Regions from separate parts of the Homo sapiens genome. Here region 1 is linked to region 2. Evidence: promoter capture Hi-C in 16 types of primary human blood cells and fetal thymus (Javierre and others, 2016). All regions are on one chromosome and are shown on one strand. Each heading gives the region's core, a stretch centred on a gene start or on the middle of the fragment in contact. The rest is flanking DNA. Distances are from core to core; before and after follow the strand shown.

The links. Contacts are between HindIII fragments. The CHiCAGO score rates a contact against its expected background, and 5 or more counts as called.
Region 1: a contact is called between a fragment that was not itself captured here and the fragment with the promoter of SOST in region 2, in 2 of 17 cell types (megakaryocytes and endothelial precursors). The highest score is 6.5, in megakaryocytes.

The regions. Positions count from the first base shown.
Region 1 is chr17:43,719,473-43,723,661 of GRCh38, reverse strand. It overlaps the pseudogene WHSC1L2P. Among named protein-coding and RNA genes, the nearest start is that of SOST, 37 kb to the left of the region's middle. RefSeq lists silencers at 2,639-2,698, 2,849-2,958, 2,989-3,058. The HindIII fragment of the contact is 2,610 bases long and covers 785-3,394 here.
Region 2 is chr17:43,757,032-43,761,029 of GRCh38, reverse strand. It overlaps SOST (sclerostin), which reads left to right and starts at 2,239. Exons shown (of 2, transcript NM_025237.3): 1 at 2,239-2,508. The coding sequence starts at 2,289. RefSeq lists a silencer at 295-589. The HindIII fragment of the contact is 6,420 bases long and covers 1,271-3,998 here.

The DNA of each region.
Region 1 (4,189 bases), core at 840-3,339, 37 kb after region 2:
TGCAGTGGTGCAAACACAGCTCACTGCATCCTCAACCTCCTGGACTCAAGCAATCCTAGCACCTCAGCCTCCTCGTGTAGATGGGACCACAGGCATGTGCCACCACACCAGGCTAATTTTTAAATTTTTTGTTAAGAAAAGGTCTCACCATGTTGTCCATGCTGGTCTCAAACTCCTGGGCTCAAGTGATTTTCCCGCCTCAGCCTCCCAAAGCACTGAGATTAGAGGCATAAGCCACCGCAACAGGCCATCATCAACTTAATTCTAAGGCATTTCCCACCCCCACCCTCATTCCCTGAACTCCCATCCTCCTTTGATCCTCAGTCAAGGCCAACTTCGAAAACTCCTTGGTAATCAGCTGGGAGCTTGCAGGGCCCAGACCTTCAGCAGCTTGTGGGAATGTCCCATGAGGAACTTTTTTTTTGTCAAAAGAATGCCAGGAGTTTAATTACTGTGTGGCCCATGGAGGTGATTTCCATTTATCAGCCAGAACCCAGACAGATCCTAGGAAGGCCCATCATGTGAGGCTGTGGCCGCCGTGGCCTGCTCTCTCCAGCAAAGGATAACCCTGGGGCCTGTGCCCTGGGCAGGGGCAGCAGGAATGCTTTGAATGCTTCCCCTGCATGTGGCCTTGGGTTTTACCAATGGCTACAGCGGGTGGTTTAATTAATAAATGTCCACTGCTTGTCATTTATCATTAGCAAAACAGGAGGGGTTGGAGGTGGGGGCAGCCAAGAGGGCAGGGAAGCTTTCTCCAAACAAGGTGCACCGATAAATTAAAGCTTTATCCATCAGTCTCACAGGCTGGCTGCTGTTGTACAGCCCCACGTTACTTTCCTCTGGTTCAGAGGCCAATCTCATGTTTCTGAAGGGCTTTGCAGCAGCTGTAGGGGGTTTCATCTATGACTGTGTTTCCCTTGTCAAATCTCAGCAAAGGACTGTGTTGCATGGTATGGAGGAGAGAGAGCAGCATGTGCCCAGGGGACTGGTTCCCATCGGGGTCTCAAACTGAAACTCTATGGTGGATCCAGCCTGAGGCTAGATTTTTGTTTGGCTACAATGGCATTTGACAAATTGGAAATTTTTACATAAAAATTCAAGTTTCTGGCTTCTATTGAAAAAGCAAGGCGAGGCAAAACCAAACCCTCTTTTTCAGTATGGCAACAAGCAGCTGATGGCCAGCTTAGGCAGGCAGGGCAGCCATGTGAGGTTGTGTGAGTTGTGCACTGCACAAAAGCACCTAGCAGAAGGTGCAAATGGAGGCTGAATCCAGGCCAGGCTGTCTTTCCAGCAGAAGCCCTGTAGGCAGGATGCAGGCCTTCCACTTCCCCACCACCGCTGACAATCCCTGCTACTTTACTCACCTACTCCATTCATTTACGTTACCTATCTGAGCTTGGTAAGCACTTGGTGTTTTCATTCCTAGTATACAATCAGGGCACTATTTCGTCTTCTCTATGTGAGAAATGCCTCTTCAACCTTCAAGGCTCAGCTCAACTCATAGAAGCTCCCTGGTGGTACCCTCCTCTGTATTTTCTCAACAGCAACCCACACTGCTATTATAGCACTCGGCACACCCTTGTGCTCTAATTTGTTAGCGGATCCTGTTTCCTGCAGACTTTGAGCCCCTTGAAGATAGATCCTACCATTTCTACTTTTCCTCTGCCTGGCACATAATGGGCACTAAATCAGTAGGGCTGAATGAATGGGTTTATGGCCAAGTGTGCCCCAGGCAAGGGAGGCCTCCAAGAGGCTGCCTAAAATCCTAAGCCAGGAAGGTCAGGAAAGGGTGATAAAAGGTTTTAACTTTGGGGTTTTGAAAGACCCTAGACTCCTAGGTTTCTTCTCTTGGACACTCTATGGGGCACTTAAAATCCTGAGTCATGCTGATTTTGGGATTTCCTCTGACCAGAAAGCTGAGTGTTTAAGACTTTTCACATTCGCTTGTTTTGTTGCAAGGAGCTAGTAAGAGCTCAGCCTGGCCTCTCCCAAAACCACTCATAAAGGAGCAGCAGACATGGTGCAGCCAACAGAGACTTCAGGGAACAAGGATGGCTGTGACTTGTGCAGAGCAATTCTGGGATCCTGGAACCTGAAATACATCTCCTCCCCAGAAATTTAGCCTGAAATTTCTTTAACCAAGATCAAAAGGTGAACCTTGCTTCTAATAATCACAGAGGACTGAATGTGTTCTGCGAAGGAGAGCCACACTGGTCTAAATTATTTCCAACTAACGTGTAAATGACTGATAGAGGTTTTTGGTTTTTTTGTTTTGTTTTTGTTGATTTTTTTTTTTTCCTAAATGCTAGTTTGGTGAGAAGGTAAAAAGAGTTATAAAAGTGCAACACCAAGGCGGGTGGATCGCGAGGTCAGGAGTTCGATACCAGCCTGGCCAACATGGTGAAACCCCATCTCTACTAAAAGTACAAAGAATTAGCTGGGCGTGGAGGCGCGCCCCCGTAATCCCAGCTCCTCGGAGGCTGAAGCAGGAGAATCGCTTGAACCCGGGAGGCGGAGGTTGCAGCGAGCCGAGATCGCGCCATTGCACTCCAGCCTGGGTGACAGAGCGAGACTCCGTCTCAAAAAAAAAAAAAAAAAAAAAAAAAAAAAAAAAAGCAACAAGCCCTCTCGCCTAGTCTCTCCTTTGTCGTCCAGACCCTCGCGGCCGCGGGCGTTCGTGGTTCGTCCCCTCCGCCCCCTCCGTCCCCTCCGCCCTTTCCGCCGCGCTGACTCGCCGCTTCCTCCTGGGCTCCATCGCCCCAAACCCGGGACTGCACTTCCCGGCAGACGCCGCGGCCAATGAGGGAGGGGCTGAGGATTTGGCGGCGGCGGCGCCCCGAGAGTCGGGGTGACGGGGCTTTGTGCGCTGAGGCGGAGGCTGCCAGCACGGAGGCGGAGGCCCAGGGGCTGTGCACAGGTCACCGCGGAGAGACGTGCGATTTCCCAGCCGAGCGCCGAGGACCCTGCTGCCCAGGCCAGGCTGCCAGCCGTAGGCTCCTCTCTGGCGGCAGCGGGGGCGCGGCGACACCCGTCTCTCGGCCTCCCCTTCCCACCCCACCTCCGGAGCCTTCCTCCTGCCGCAGCACGCCTGGCCTGGTCCGGCTGTGGCCCTCCTCGATCTCCGTGTCCCTCCTGTGATCGCATTGAGACGGCCGGGCGGTTAGAACGGGACAAACTGAAGGCCCGATGAGAGAAAGGGAAAGTTAAGAATGCTGGAGCAGAACAATGGATTTCTCTTTCTCTTTCATGCAAGGGATCACGGGAAACACAGTTCAACAACCACCTCAACTCACTGACTCCGCCAGCATCCGTCAGGAGGATGCCTTTGATAACAAAATTGACATTGCTGAAGATGGTGGCCAGACACCATACGAAGCTACCTTGCAGCAAAGCTTTCAATACTCACCTACAACAGATCTTCCTCCACTCACAAATGGCTACCTGCCATCAATCAGCATGTATGAAATTCAAACCAAATACCAGTCGCATAATCAATATCCTAATGGGTCAGCCAATGACTTTGGCGCAGCTAGAAACTTTAGCCCCACTGACTATTACCATTCAGAAATTCTAAACAGAAGACCACATTAAATTCTAGAAAACCCTTCCCCTCCACAGCCACCACTTCGGTACCACAAACTGTGATTCCAAAGAAGAGTGGCTCACCTGAAGTTAAACTAAAAATAACCAAAACTATCCAGAATGGCAGGGAATTGTTCAAGTCTTCCCTTTGTGGAGACCTTTTAAATGAAGTACAGGCAAGTGAGCACACGAAGTCAAAGCATGAAAGCAGAAAAGAAAAGAGGAAAAAACCCAAAAAGCATGACTCATCAAGATCTGAAGAGCGCAAGTCACACAAAATCCCCAAATTAGAACCAGAGGAACAAAATAGACCAAATGAGAGGGTTCACACCATATCAGAAAAACCAAGGGAAGATCCAGTACTAAAAGAGGAAGCCCCAGTTCAGCCAATACTATCTTCTGTTCCAACAACAGAAGTGTCCACTGGTGTTAAGTTTCAAGTTGGTGATCTTGTGTGGTCCAAGGTGGGAACCTATCCGTGCTGGCCTTGTATGGATTGAAGTGATCCCCAGCTGGAGGTTCATACCAAAATTAACACAGGAGGTGCCCGAAAATATCATGTCCAGTGTTTTAGCAAACAGCCAGAGAGGGTGTGGGTTCATGAAAA
Region 2 (3,998 bases), core at 990-3,489:
TGCAGCCTGGGCCACAGAGAGAATCTGCCAAAAAAAGAAAAAAAAAAAAATTTCAGCCGTACAAGGATGTTCATAGCAACCCTGCTGGAAATAGGAAAAAAAATTGGAAATAACCTAAACTACTCACAATAGGAATCAGCTAAAACCCTGGGGGTTTAATTCCAGGGAGTACTGTGAACAATGACAAGTTTGTGGACTGAGTAAAAATAAACAGCTGTCAATGACTTAACATTAAATGAAACAGCAGAAGATGTCACAGCAGGTTCTCGCTGAGCCATTCAGAGGGGTGTGGATCATTTAGAGGTTCAAGTCCACTGGATTCTTCTTTTTCCTTTTAATATTACTTCACTTCCAAATAAGGAAAGGAAAGGAAAGGAAATCACGTCCAGTCCTGAGACTTGCCATCCTGCAGTCACCCCTCCTTTTGTCTCCAGCAGGTGGCAGACGCGTTCCAGGGATGAATCCCACTGCCTCTGTTTAATGCAGACGGTCCAGCCGCTCCCAACAGCAGGTGGGGCTATAAGCATCCATCCTACCTGCTCAAGGAACCCAGGCATCAGAACTGCTCTCTCCCAAGTCCATTGCAAGAAGGCAGTCGTCTGGTCATGAGAGGGTTAACAGTCCACATTCCAGAGCAAGGGAAAAGGAGGCTGGAGGGTCATAGACAAGGGGAGGTGGCGCGGAGGGCCAGCTTCTCACAACACTACCGGCTCTGCTGGGAGAGATAGATCACCCCCAACAATGGCCACAGCTGTTTTCATCTGCCCTGAAGGAAACTGACTTAGGAAGCAGGTATCAGAGAGGGCCCTTCCTGAGGGGGCTTCTGTCTGGCTTGTAAAACTGTCAGAGCAGCTGCATTCATGTGTCGGATGATGGATGATGGAAAGGAGGACAGTCGGCTGCAGATGGACACAGCGACTTGCAAGTTGAGGCAGGTGGCAAAGGACTTGCAGAGGCTCTGCAGGTGGGGCATGCTGATTCATTGCCCAGTTAAAATACCAGAGGATCTGGGCAGCCTCTTCACAGGAGCTGCTTGTCCTCAAACAATCTGTCTTCAATGAAAGATTCCTCTGGCCTTCCTTTCTCTTCTTGCACCTCAGGTGTGAATCCTTCTCCCCCACGCCTCTACCTGCCCCCCCGCCCCCCGCCCCGGCCCTGTGTGGCTCATTATATGCAGGGCCAAGGCAGCATTTTCTCTTAGCTTCTTTGTGACCACTTGGTCCTGGGATGGCTTCATGGAACACATCCTGTGGTGTGCACCAATGAAGCTTTCCATACAGGACTCAAAACTGTTTTTGAAAAATGTAACCAGCTGGAAGACAAGAAAATAAAATGTCAGCACTAAAAACGCTGGCTGTGGCTTTTGCTAAGGAAAGGAATTTGGTGTTGTCTTCTCACACACACAGACTGGTTGGGGAAATGACTGTCTTCAGCACATCACCCTGCGAGCCACAGTGAGTGCCCTGGCTCAGAAGTGCCTGTCACAGTGCACAGGATCCCTGAGGAGCATGAGCTGGGATTTCCTCTGTGCTGTCCACCACAGGAGCCTGAGTGACCAGCGCATCCTCGATTTGTAACCAGAATCCTGCCCTCTCTCCCAAGCGGGCACCCTTGCTCTGACCCTCTAGTTCTCTCTCTTGCCTTCCAGAGAATACCAAGAGAGGCTTTCTTGGTTAGGACAATGAATGCTGAGACTTGTGGAGTTGGGACCAATGGGATTTCTTTAAAAGCATCTTTTTGCCTCTGGCTGGGTCTATGGGGGTCAAACAGAAACGCCTTGGGCCATTTGTTGGTGGGGTGACAAATGAACTTGGCCTGAGAAATGGAATAGGCCGGGCTCAGCCCCGCGAAGCACTCAGAACTGCACATTTTCTTTGTTGAGCGGGTCCACAGTTTGTTTTGAGAATGCCCGAGGGCCCAGGGAGACAGACAATTAAAAGCCGGAGCTCATTTTGATATCTGAAAACCACAGCCGCCAGCACGTGGGAGGTGCCGGAGAGCAGGCTTGGGCCTTGCCTCACACGCCCCCTCTCTCTGGGTCACCTGGGAGTGCCAGCAGCAATTTGGAAGTTTGCTGAGCTAGAGGAGAAGTCTTTGGGGAGGGTTTGCTCTGAGCACACCCCTTTCCCTCCCTCCGGGGCTGAGGGAAACATGGGACCAGCCCTGCCCCAGCCTGTCCTCATTGGCTGGCATGAAGCAGAGAGGGGCTTTAAAAAGGCGACCGTGTCTCGGCTGGAGACCAGAGCCTGTGCTACTGGAAGGTGGCGTGCCCTCCTCTGGCTGGTACCATGCAGCTCCCACTGGCCCTGTGTCTCGTCTGCCTGCTGGTACACACAGCCTTCCGTGTAGTGGAGGGCCAGGGGTGGCAGGCGTTCAAGAATGATGCCACGGAAATCATCCCCGAGCTCGGAGAGTACCCCGAGCCTCCACCGGAGCTGGAGAACAACAAGACCATGAACCGGGCGGAGAACGGAGGGCGGCCTCCCCACCACCCCTTTGAGACCAAAGGTATGGGGTGGAGGAGAGAATTCTTAGTAAAAGATCCTGGGGAGGTTTTAGAAACTTCTCTTTGGGAGGCTTGGAAGACTGGGGTAGACCCAGTGAAGATTGCTGGCCTCTGCCAGCACTGGTCGAGGAACAGTCTTGCCTGGAGGTGGGGGAAGAATGGCTCGCTGGTGCAGCCTTCAAATTCAGGTGCAGAGGCATGAGGCAACAGACGCTGGTGAGAGCCCAGGGCAGGGAGGACGCTGGGGTGGTGAGGGTATGGCATCAGGGCATCAGAACAGGCTCAGGGGCTCAGAAAAGAAAAGGTTTCAAAGAATCTCCTCCTGGGAATATAGGAGCCACGTCCAGCTGCTGGTACCACTGGGAAGGGAACAAGGTAAGGGAGCCTCCCATCCACAGAACAGCACCTGTGGGGCACCGGACACTCTATGCTGGTGGTGGCTGTCCCCACCACACAGACCCACATCATGGAATCCCCAGGAGGTGAACCCCCAGCTCGAAGGGGAAGAAACAGGTTCCAGGCACTCAGTAACTTGGTAGTGAGAAGAGCTGAGGTGTGAACCTGGTTTGATCCAACTGCAAGATAGCCCTGGTGTGTGGGGGGGTGTGGGGGACAGATCTCCACAAAGCAGTGGGGAGGAAGGCCAGAGAGGCACCCCTGCAGTGTGCATTGCCCACGGCCTGCCCAGGGAGCTGGCACTTGAAGGAATGGGAGTTTTCGGCACAGTTTTAGCCCCTGACATGGGTGCAGCTGAGTCCAGGCCCTGGAGGGGAGAGCAGCATCCTCTGTGCAGGAGTAGGGACATCTGTCCTCAGCAGCCACCCCAGTCCCAACCTTGCCTCATTCCAGGGGAGGGAGAAGGAAGAGGAACCCTGGGTTCCTGGTCAGGCCTGCACAGAGAAGCCCAGGTGACAGTGTGCATCTGGCTCTATAATTGGCAGGAATCCTGAGGCCATGGGGGCGTCTGAAATGACACTTCAGACTAAGAGCTTCCCTGTCCTCTGGCCATTATCCAGGTGGCAGAGAAGTCCACTGCCCAGGCTCCTGGACCCCAGCCCTCCCCGCCTCACAACCTGTTGGGACTATGGGGTGCTAAAAAGGGCAACTGCATGGGAGGCCAGCCAGGACCCTCCGTCTTCAAAATGGAGGACAAGGGCGCCTCCCCCCACAGCTCCCCTTCTAGGCAAGGTCAGCTGGGCTCCAGCGACTGCCTGAAGGGCTGTAAGGAACCCAAACACAAAATGTCCACCTTGCTGGACTCCCACGAGAGGCCACAGCCCCTGAGGAAGCCACATGCTCAAAACAAAGTCATGATCTGCAGAGGAAGTGCCTGGCCTAGGGGCGCTATTCTCGAAAAGCCGCAAAATGCCCCCTTCCCTGGGCAAATGCCCCCCTGACCACACACACATTCCAGCCCTGCAGAGGTGAGGATGCAAACCAGCCCACAGACCAGAAAGCAGCCCCAGACGATGGCAGTGGCCACATCTCCCCT